Regions from separate parts of the Homo sapiens genome. Here region 1 is linked to region 2. The links are contacts of gene promoters, found by promoter capture Hi-C in human tissues and cell types (Jung and others, 2019). All regions are on one chromosome and are shown on one strand. Each heading gives the region's core, a stretch centred on a gene start or on the middle of the fragment in contact. The rest is flanking DNA. Distances are from core to core; before and after follow the strand shown.

Region 1 (5,448 bases), core at 1,841-4,340, 170 kb after region 2:
AGGCTGAGGTAGGAGGATCACTTGAGCAAGGAAGGCAGAGTTGCAGTGAACAGAGATCACACCACTGCACTCCAACCTGGGTGATAGAGTGAGACCCCATCTCAAAAAGAAAAAAAAACGAAACTACAGACAAAATTGGGAAGGAGGTGGGAAGTGGGGCTGCATTCCATGGCAGGTCAACATTGTTGCCTTTCCAGAACCACAGAAATTCATCCCAGAAATCCTGTTAGCCACTCGAGGCTACTATTTGCCCCCAAAGTTTAAATATATCATATAAAACTTTATAAAGTTTTAAATATAGCATATAAAACTTTATAAAGTTTTAAATATATCATATGTGTCATCATTATATATGATACATTTAAAACTTTATAGTTTTATATTAGCTATATTAGGCTATATTAGCTCTCGGGGTGGGACATAGTGAAATTTTCCTCTTGTCATCTAAAAAGGCCAAGGAAAGGAACCTCTCATTCACTGAGAGGTGGGCATAGCACCCTAGTTCTCCCCGGGGCAACTTCTGGCCAGGCCGAAGCCCTCATTCCCTCTGAAACGGAGGTGGTAGAGGCCAGGAGCAAGCATGGAGGAGGAGAGGAAAGGAGGCCAAAAAGGCCCTCTCCCCACTTGGGCCCACTGCCCTCAAATCCCCCACCCCAACGTCCCTCCAGATCCTCCACGGACGGTTCTCTCCTCTTTGGCACGTTGCTAATTTCTGAAAAGAAGGTCCTGGGAGCTGTGATTGTCCTGTACCCCCGAAGACGTACACACTAAGGAAGGTGTGAAGCTGCCGCAATCAGATGGTGCCCTTAACAACAGCCAGGGTGAAACCCCCTGAACACCTGGCTTTGTGAATTTCACAGCCTATTAACCCTGGTGGGTCTTTCCTTAAGACTTCTTACACCAGCCCGTTAGGGGAATGGGGGCAGGCAGGGAGCTCAGGCCTCTGCTCTACCCACCGAAATTGGTTCTAGGGCCCACTGCGGACAAACCACAGACCTCTGAGGATTCAGTGAGATAGTATAGGCAAAAATTGCACAGTGCCTGGGAAACAGGCATGCATTTTTTTTTTTTTTTTTTTTTTTTTTTTTTTTGAGATGGAGTCTTGCTGTCGCCTGGGCTGGAGTGCAGTGGGGTGATCTCAGCTCACTGCAACCTCCACCTCCCTGGTTCAAGCAATTCCCCTGCCTCAGCCTCCTAAGCTAAGCAGGGTCGGGCCTGGTTAGTACTTGGATGGGAAACAGGCATGCATTCTACAAATATTTACTAGCATTTACTATGTGCCAAGTACTGTTCTAGGCACTAGGGATACAACTCTGAACAAAGTGAAATCCTGTTCTTCTGGAGCTTCCATTCCACTGAGAGAGGCAGATAACACATAAACAATATATGTCAGATGCTAAGGGAAAATAATCAAGGAGGCCAAGGCAATGAGAGGCCACCATCTAGGCTGGAGGGCCAGGTAAGGCCTCCCTGAAGGAGGCCACGGAGCAACGGCCACCAGCCCCTCCAGAGGTGAGAGGGCTCATTTGAGAGTAGGAGGTTCACTGGGAAGCCTGGCTGTGCCTTAACACAGAGCAGGAGGTGATGGGGAAGGGAAGAGAGGGTGGGTTGCCATTATCCATCTCCACCTTAAAGAGAGTTGGTGTGGTTCGAATGAATTTCCCAGAAGCCCCTCCCTCACCTGCTGCAAAGGAGTCACTGGTTGTCCTGAGGGCTGCTTATTAAAGATTGTTTCCAGCTGCCTCAAACCAACGGCAGTCCCCTATATGTGTGCTTCTGAGAGGCTCCTCTCCCAACAGCCAGTGCTGCCTCAGTTTCTCCTGGGTTGTCAGTCTTTTGAAGTCTAAAAATTAAATGATTCAGATCAAATTCTTGATCTGGCACTTACTGGCATGTGTCCTTGAGTGGGAAAATTTCTTACCCTTATAGCCGGGCACAGAGGTTCTTGCCTGTAATCTCAGCACTTTGGGAAGCTGAGGCGGGAGGATTACTTGAGGGCAGGAGTTCAAGAACAGCCTGGGCAACATGGTGAAATCCCGTCTCTACAAAAAAAAAAAAAAAAAATTCTTAACCTCTGTGAATGTGCCTCAGTTTTCTCCCCTGCAATGTGGAAATTAGTGCCAATGCCTACCTTGGCATTGGCCATAGGATAATAAAACGGGCTCATCCAGGAAAGCACTTAACACAGAGCCTGGCACACATAACTGCCTTAAAAATGTTTGTGACAGACCCCAGGTCACATCCTTTATCCCTCTGTATACTAGGCCCTTGTCCTTTTACGCTCTCTGATGTCAAGGCAGCTGCAGCTGTGAGATTTTCCAGCCCTTACCCAAAGCTGAGAACCAAAGACTGTTCATGGTACATTTCTGTACTAGAGGAATAGGAAAGCATATGATTGGAGAACCTGATGGAGACCCCACCCTTCTGGACAAGCATTGACACTCAGGAATATCTGCTGTTGTTGCTACCCAGCTTCCATTCATGCTATCTTCAGGAATGATGCCCTGATTTCCCCTACAGAACATGGTACCCCACTCCCATTCCCAAAGCTTCAGATGGAGGCCTCTCCTGGCCTCAGAGTAGAGCACAAACCTAGGACTCAACCAATCAACGCACTCCATTCTCCTCACCACAGCAACTGGTTGGAGGATAGAAACACCGTCCATCTGAACCAATGACAGCCAGGCCTAAACTTTGGTCTGTGGGGAAACAGATGCTCTCTTTCCTACTGAATTGGATCTTAGAAGAAGTTACTTGGAGCCACTATGAATTTCTTCATTTTTTAAATCAGCATGCCCCCATTACTGTGTGAATTTTAAAAAAGGATGAAAGCTCAGAGCCAAAGGATTATTTGATATAACATATGTGAAAGCTTTTTGTACAAGGCAAAGTTCTATGCAAAATGTCAGAGCTCCTAAAGTCAAGCTATAAAATAAGACTGAGCTACTTTCACTGAGTCTTTTACTCTGCATCAGGTGTTTTATATGCACTATTGAATGTTACTGAATTTAATACTACCAATTGCCCTTTGAGGTAGGAATTATTTAAGGCCCATTTTACAGATAAAGAAAGTAAAGCTTAGTAAAATTAAGTATGCCCAAACCCACACTGGGGGGTTCTCTGGTAGAACAGCCTGCCTGTGTTATATACCCATATGACCAAAGGAACTGTGGAGTTTAACTTGTGTAACCTCACCAGATTCTGCATACAAGATGAAGTCACATTAGCTGTTATACCCAAATTTAGCTAAGTCATGCAATTATGCCCAAGTTCAGCTGAGTCCTGGCCCCTTTCTGCTCACAGGGATCTCATGCTACCCCTCCTTTGCCCTTCTCTCTCCCCTATCTCAAGCTCCAGACACCAGAATACCAAAGCAACTCCCCTATTCCCCACCCTCTGGTGCAAATCACTCAGACCAATGCCTGGAGAGCTCAGTTTGCAGCCATAGCAAAGCAAGATCACCCAGCTACAATGATACAATTGCCTGCCAATCACAAGCCAGCAGCTCTATCATTTTGTAGAGAAGGTTGGCTTCTCCTCTTATCTCCTCCATATTTCCACCCTCACATGTGGCCTTTTCTCTCCATTCATCTCGGTCCTTGGAGAAGGAAGGTCCTTTCTGAGTCTCTTCAATATCCAAGGTCTAATCTCTTCTGTATGTGATCCCCACCTACTACTGGAATCTTCCTCCACCCTTGGCTGGTGTGTCTCTACAGGCATCTCCTCCTACTGCTCAGATGGCACCTTCACCAGCTCCTCCTCCCCCTCCTGCCATCTTCTAACTCTGGAAAGTCACCAGGACTCAGTCCTGGATGCCACACCATTTTCCCTTCATAAGCTCTTCCTCAAGTAGGCCATTTCTCTTATGGCTTCAGTGACCACTTCTCTGAGGACAAATTCTAACTAAATCTCAGGCCCGGCCCACAGAACGTCCACTTGGATATATCCCTGTCACCTTAAAACCTTCAAGCTTAGAAGGGTCCCAAGTCCTCCCTGACAATTGGTTCTCTCTCTCCTAACTTCTCTATGTCTGTGAGCACATCTGTTTGTTTTCAGTTTAGGGGAGGAAAATTGCAGCCAGGCCTCTGCCATAACTAGCAATACTTAGCACCACTCTCTCCCTCCCCAGATTAAAATGAGTTGTCCTGTAGTAGGGTAGCTAATGACCACTCTGTGACAACCAAAAATCTCAGTGGCTTAACACAATACAGGTTAATTTCTTACTTCTGTCACAGATCAATGAGAAATCAAAGGTGAGGAACTCTGCTCCATATAGTCATTCAGGGACCCAAGCCCTTTCCCTAGTGGCTCTGTTATCTCCTAAGACTTGGAATCCCCCACTACATCCTCAGTGTACAGCCAGCAGATGAAAGACCAGAGAGAGTGATGGATCACAGGGGACACTTTTAGGAACCAGGACCAGAGGTGGTATACGGCACTTTCACCTGCATCCCACTGGTCGGGACTGAGTCACATGCCCCAGCAAACTACAAGAGAGGCTGGGAAATGTAATCTAGCCATGTGCCCAAAAGGAAAAGGAAATGGAGGTTGGTGAACACATAGCAATCACCTCTCAGCCTGGAGTGCTTGGTCTGCAACCTAACCCCTCAATAAGCCCCATATCTTGAAGAATTTCAACCTTGTCTCAACCAAGCAGCCCAACCACAGCTGCTCAACCTGCCCCTAAGTATCAACTTAATGACATTGGTTCTCACACAATTGCTAGTCTTCGTTCATCCAATAAACAGTTACTGAGCACTTAATCATCCCCCAGTTGTTATGCTATACACCAGAGAGGCAAAGGCAAGTAAAAAAGTGGTCCCTGCCCTCAAGAAGACCCCATCTTGTATAACCTCATTCAAACCTAAGGAAAACATTTACTATATTATTATTTCGCCATTTAAAATCCTTTTCTTGGCTGGGTGCGGTTGCTTACGCCTGTAATCCCAGCACTTTGGGAGGCCGAGGCGGGCAGATCACTTGAGGTCAGGAATTCAAGACCTGCCTGGCCAATATGGTAAAACCCTGTCTCTACTAAAAATACAAAAATTAGCCGGGCATGGTGGCAAGTGCCTGTAGTCCCAGCTACTCAGGAGGCTGAGACAGGAGAATCACTTGAACCCAGGAGATGGAGATTGCAGTGAGCCGAGAAAGCACCACTACACTCCAGCCTGGTGACAGAGCAGGACTCCATCTCAAACAAACAAACAAACAAACAAACAAACAAAAAAACCCTTTTTTTGTCAAACATACAGGAAGGTGCCTAAAAAATAGGAACCTCACACAAATGTTAATTGCTTGTTATTGGGGAATAGGGGGTATCACCCAGGGCATGGTCTTGACTCCCAGTACAAGTGATCATGCCTCTTCCTTTGTTCCTTTGCCAGTTAACTCCTGGGATTATCCTCCGCCATGCTTCTCCCAGACTGACATGTGGGGAAGGCTGGC
Region 2 (5,294 bases), core at 1,285-3,784:
CGTCCAGCCATCCTTCCATGCCTTCGTCTCTGCATGAACCCTCCATCCCTCTATTTACCAAAAGCCTGCACCCGAAGGAGAGCTCTTCTCCATGCCTGCTTACACATTCCCAGGTCTCTGACTTTTTTGACCAATAGCTACAGGAAAAAGAAAAGAGAACTTGAGGACTCAATAGAGCTGTATTTGGCCAAAAAAAAAAAAAATGGTTAAGGCGATGAAGTGTGTTTTATCACCTCTCCTCTGTAGGGCTGCTCCACCCTCGCCCTCTCACTTTTTGGCCTTTAGGCTCTTCTTGCTGTTCTTTTAGCTGTTTTCTTTTTTTCAGACTTTGTTGAGTGCCTACTATATGCCAACCTCTGGGCAAGTGTTCTTTCAGAAGTGCTCTTGTTTAATTCCCCAATGCTGTGAAGTTGATATCATCATTTCCATTTTATATGTGAGGAAACTGAGGCTCTAAGAGTGTGCCCAAGGACTCCTGGTCATCTGAGAGTGCTACATCTTCTGGTGCTGAGCCCAATGGCTTTCCAAGACCCTTCCCCGCTAGCTACTCTGCACCCCATGTGGTCTTCTGCTGCATTCCTGAGCTGAGGGTGCATCCCAGATCTGCCTCCTCTTTCCTTCCGTTGTGCTCAGCCACTGTGACATTCCCCATGGCCCCAGCACAATGCCTGGCACATCAATGCCAAAAAGAACGTTAATGGTGGAGGTGACCTGGCTGTGGTGGGCAGTAGATGGGTGCTTGGTAGGATAAGGGGATCTTTGGGTGTTCTCTAATTACACCCAGAGAGAGGCATGTCCTGTGCCTGGGCAGAGAGGTTAGCTCCAGTTCTCTCCCAGATGCTGCAGTGTAGGTGTAGGAGTCCTGGCAACTCATGCCCTGTTCCCTTCCACGTCTCCCACAGGCTAGAGGGGCACAGATCCAAGGGCAAAGCTCTGGGATCACTAAGTACTGGGCTCACCAACATGTCCAATACTTTCAGGCCTTTGTGGTAGGAGGTCATTGGCATAGATAGGAAGGAAGTGCTCTTCCTCTAAGGGGGATGGGGCACCAGGTTACCATGGAAGCCATGAGTAATTTCCTTCCTAAGAAAAGTACAAACTTCCAGGCAGTCAGAGCCACTCTGACACCATCTTGAGCAGCAGACTGGATTCTGTGCCTTCTAGAGGTCTCCACCCAGACTCATCCCAGCCTGCTGCTCCGTTATTAGAGGCTTAGGATATACGCCCTGTTCAATATTTATATACTTTTATTTTGGCTGCAGCATTTTGAAAACCCTTGTGGATATCTGTGCTAAGGAAAGAATGAAGTTTTTAAACTATGAAGGTTGAGAAAATTTTAACCCACGGATACATGTCGGATGAGAAAGAGGAGGGCTTCCTACAGCAAGGGATGTCAAGAGTGTGGTGCAGAACAAAACCCTAGAAGCTGTGAGATGGGCAGGGCACTCCTTTTTTGGTAATCCTCAAGCTAAAACCTTTGGACTTGGAAGTCACAATCTAGACTCCAAATGCTCCCACAATCCCTATCTCAGTCTCTCTGGTTTCCCCAGAGCTAAGATGAACTACCAGCAAATGTCTTCCAACAAATTTCCAGAGCCACCTCCTCATTCATTTCCTTGCTCCTATCCAGAAGCCACAAGCAAAGAGATATTGGCTGGACCTCTAGCATCTCCCCTTGCTGGCTGTGCTAGCAACAGAGGCAGTGCCCCAGTAGAGAGATCCTTCTATGCTAGCCTGGGTTTCTCCTCCTCCTCCTCCTTCTTCCTCTTCTTCTTCTTCTTTTTTTTTTTTTTTAACTTTTCCCTAACCCCTTTTCTCCCCTTCCCTATTGGCTGTCTCCTGGGAAACTGCATATCTAGGATTTGAGCTGTGCATGCCAGCGGCCCACTTGAAAACTCCTCTCACTTTTCTACAGCCTTGGAGAACAGTAGACTCTTTTCTCTGCATTCTTTGATGTTCATCCTCCTCTTTGCTTCCTAGAAAGCTTTTTAGGGTGGCAACCCCAGTGAGGCAGAGGTGATAGGCAGCCTTGGAAAATGGAGAGAAAAAGGGGCTTTGGCAGAATGGGTGGAAGGATGAGGATCTCTGCCAATATGCACAGCTTAGTAGCAAATTCCATGTCCTAAGTCTAACAGAGTGCCCGTGCAACGAGCCACTTCCTCCATCCTCAGCTCCCTGGGCAGGACAAGGAAGCCTGGCTCTCTTTCCATCCCCCAGGAGAATCAGAAGGTAGGAGAGAGAAAAAGGAGGACTCTACCTGTTTGCCAGGGGGAGGAGAGCGGCTGAAGCTGGAGTCACTGCTGTCGGAGCTGTGAGGCATGGCTGAAATCTTCCGGGCTCTCACACTCAGCCCCAGGCACCTCTGGGCTCTCTTGTCACCAGCTGGGCTCCCTTCCTGACTTCTCCTGGGCCACCAGCCCACCACCCCCTACAGGTGCCTCCTCTGCCTGCCCTGTAGCCACCTCTGACCCCTGCGTCCTCCTCACTCTGGGGTGCAGAGGGACTGCTCCCCAAAGGGACATGTCGCTCGCTTTGGGGCTTGCACGCTCTCTCTCTCTCTTGTGGTTTCTGGTAACTCACGCTGGAAGTCACATGGGCGGAAACTTCAGCGAGTTAGAAGTTAGAGAGAAAAATACATATCTGGGAAAAGACCTACAGAATTATGTGAAAGAAAAAAAAATACAGATACCTTCCGACAGTTTGAAAGACACAGCAGCCCTCTTCAATTGATGAAGATAAAAGAGAAAAACAGCCCAGGCAGGGAAAAACCCCAGCCAGAATTAGCAAGTCCGTCTTCTGTCAACATGGGCAGAGAGGAGAGGACAACCAGGAAAATGTTTCCATTGTCATACGACTTGATTTTTAAACCAAAATAAAGCAAAAACACTGGGATTTCTTTCTGGTTTTCAGCCGAAAGCAGCTGCTCACCCATCTTGTCTTTCCTCACCCCTTAAGTCCAGCCAGCCTCGGGGTGGTCTGGAGATAAGACGATCCAAGGGTATTCTCCTTTCCTGACCATCAAACACAAGGGCTGTGGGAGATCAGAAAGCCACAAGGGAGGTTCTAGAATTGCTGCTCTGAAAGCCTATTAAGCGCCTGTGCTGCTTGGCAGGGAGCTCACACTCTTTAGAGAAAAGATGCCTTCCATATTGAGCAGCTCAAGACAGGCCCTGAATCTTTATGATTCAAGGTCACCTGGTCAGAACCCAGAATGCAGAAACAGTTAAAAAAAAAAAAGAAAGAAAGAAAGAAAGAAAAAGTGAAACAAATACTACACTTGGAGTCAGACCAACCAAGATTTAAATTCTGGTTCTACCACTTTGTATGTCTGTGGCCCTGGGTAGCTCACTTGAGCTATGTGACCTTCATTATCTTCATCTGTAAACAGAGGATGATAAAACCTGCCCTGCCTACCTCTTAGGAATGTGGCACAAAGCAAATGACAACGCGGATTAGAATGCCCCGCAGACTCTGAAGTAAATGACCGAGAGGGTAAGTGTAGGGTATTCCCAGCCTTGCCATGAGCGCATTTGTAGGGTTCTCAGTGATCAATTCAACCCTCACCTGGGCATCGTGGCTTTTTCAAAAGGCCTTACCTTATTCCCAGTATGGCTCGAAGCCAAACATTTGCCTTATTAAATTTTAGGATTGACAGGAAGTTACGGCTCCTAGAGGATTTTTGTATCCATGAGCTGAATTTCTAGACTAAGACAATATTGCCCTAAGGTTAAATTAAGTAAGACAAAATTCCTTTCCTATGGAGGAAAATAAAGCAGGGTTGGAGGTTAGGGAATTCTGGGTGGTCAGAAGGGCCTTGCCCAAAGAGGGGATACCTGAGCAGAGATTCGAAGAAAGAGAGGGAGTGAATGGTGAGTGTCTCAGGGAAGGACATTCCAGGACCTGAGGTGGAAGTGTGCTTGAGTATTGGAAAAAGAGCAGGGGGGCCAGGTAGTTGGATATCAGAGGCAGCAAAAGTGGCAGGCGATGAGGTCAGTGAGGTAATGGCCCGGTCAGGGAGGGCCTTAGAGGCCAACATCAGGATTTTAGCTTTCATTCTGAAAGACACAGTGAGCCCATGGAGGGTTTCCCCTTCCACCTTCATTCTTATCCTCTACCTCAGCTACTATTCATTTCTCCCATAGCAGTTACCCAATTTTATACTTATTTTATTCGTTTACTGATTTATCTTTTTCCTGTTTCCCTCAATAGAATGTTAAAACCATTTACACCTTTATTAATATATTCAACAAACGTTCATGGTGCATCTACCATGTGCCAGGCACTAAGTACTGAGGATACAGTTAGTAAAAAGAAGCTTGACTTTTTGTCTAAATGAGATAGTCTATCAGTGTTCGCTGCCCAAAAAACTACCAGAAACTTCGATGACTCAAGCCATTTATTTGGCTCATGAGTCTGTGGGTCATCTGAAAGGTTCTTTGGGGATAGGCTGGGCTAGGCTGATCTCGGCTAGGCTCGGTCATGTGTCCTCAGACAGCTGGTAGGTTGGCTGATAATTGACTGGTCTGGCCTGGCTTTGCCTTGGGCATTTCTCCTCCACATGGTCTCTCATCCACCAACAGGCTGGTCGGAGCATGTTTATTTGATAGTGGCAGGATTCCAAGAGTAGGAGCAGAAGCATTCGAAGCCCCATGGAACCCAGGCTCAGAGCTAGCACAGAACTCAGAACCTGCCACATTCTATTGGCCGAGGAGAGTCACAAGGCCAGTTCAGACTCAATGAGTTGAGAAACAGACTTCACTTCTCGATAGGAAAAATTTAACTAATTGTGGCAATTTCTACAATCTCCTACAGATGAGAAGCCATTGGAGGTGTCAGAGCAGAGGAGTGACATGATCTGACTTAGGTTTTTAGAGGATCTCTCTGGACACAGTTGAGATTTTACGATAGGGGAGCAAAGTGGAAGCAGGGAGATGAGTCAGGATTTCAGTATTGGATTACTGCAACCATCCAAACAAAAGATGCTGGCAGCATAGGCCAGTTAGACAGTGATGAAAGTGGTGAGAAGTGGGCCCTGTAAAAACCAAAGTCTGTGTTTCTCTTGTTTATAGTCATATGCTCAGTACCTAACAGATGCCGAGTAAATGGTTTTCAAACGAATGAATGCATAAGTGAATTCACTTTGCTCTTCATTTATGGCACTTATGACCTGCATTATCCTAGTGTATTGAAAGCCCTTTCAGGACAATAATAGTCATATTTATGTTTCATTCGGTTTAAATTAACATTTATTTATCACCTATTACAGAGCAGAATTCTTAAATATGAATAAGACA

Evidence for each region. The method cuts DNA at HindIII sites, captures the fragments that hold promoters and counts their contacts. A contact is called where the count stands out against the background at its distance.
Region 1: a contact is called between a fragment that was not itself captured here and the fragment with the promoter of BATF in region 2, in 4 of the 25 tissues and cell types used here (adrenal gland, dorsolateral prefrontal cortex, heart left ventricle and 1 more).

What each region holds. Positions count from the first base shown.
Region 1 is chr14:75,348,676-75,354,123 of GRCh38, reverse strand. No RefSeq gene overlaps it. Among named protein-coding and RNA genes, the nearest start is that of LINC01220, 57 kb to the right of the region's middle. The HindIII fragment of the contact is 4,553 bases long and covers 814-5,366 here.
Region 2 is chr14:75,519,709-75,525,002 of GRCh38, reverse strand. BATF (basic leucine zipper ATF-like transcription factor) reads right to left here and starts at 2,534. Exons shown (of 3, transcript NM_006399.5): 1 at 2,258-2,534. The coding sequence starts at 2,320. LOC105370572 (a long non-coding RNA gene) reads right to left here. Exons shown (of 3, transcript XR_944037.3): 3 at 5,229-5,294. RefSeq lists an enhancer at 2,237-2,566. The HindIII fragment of the contact is 4,535 bases long and covers 455-4,989 here.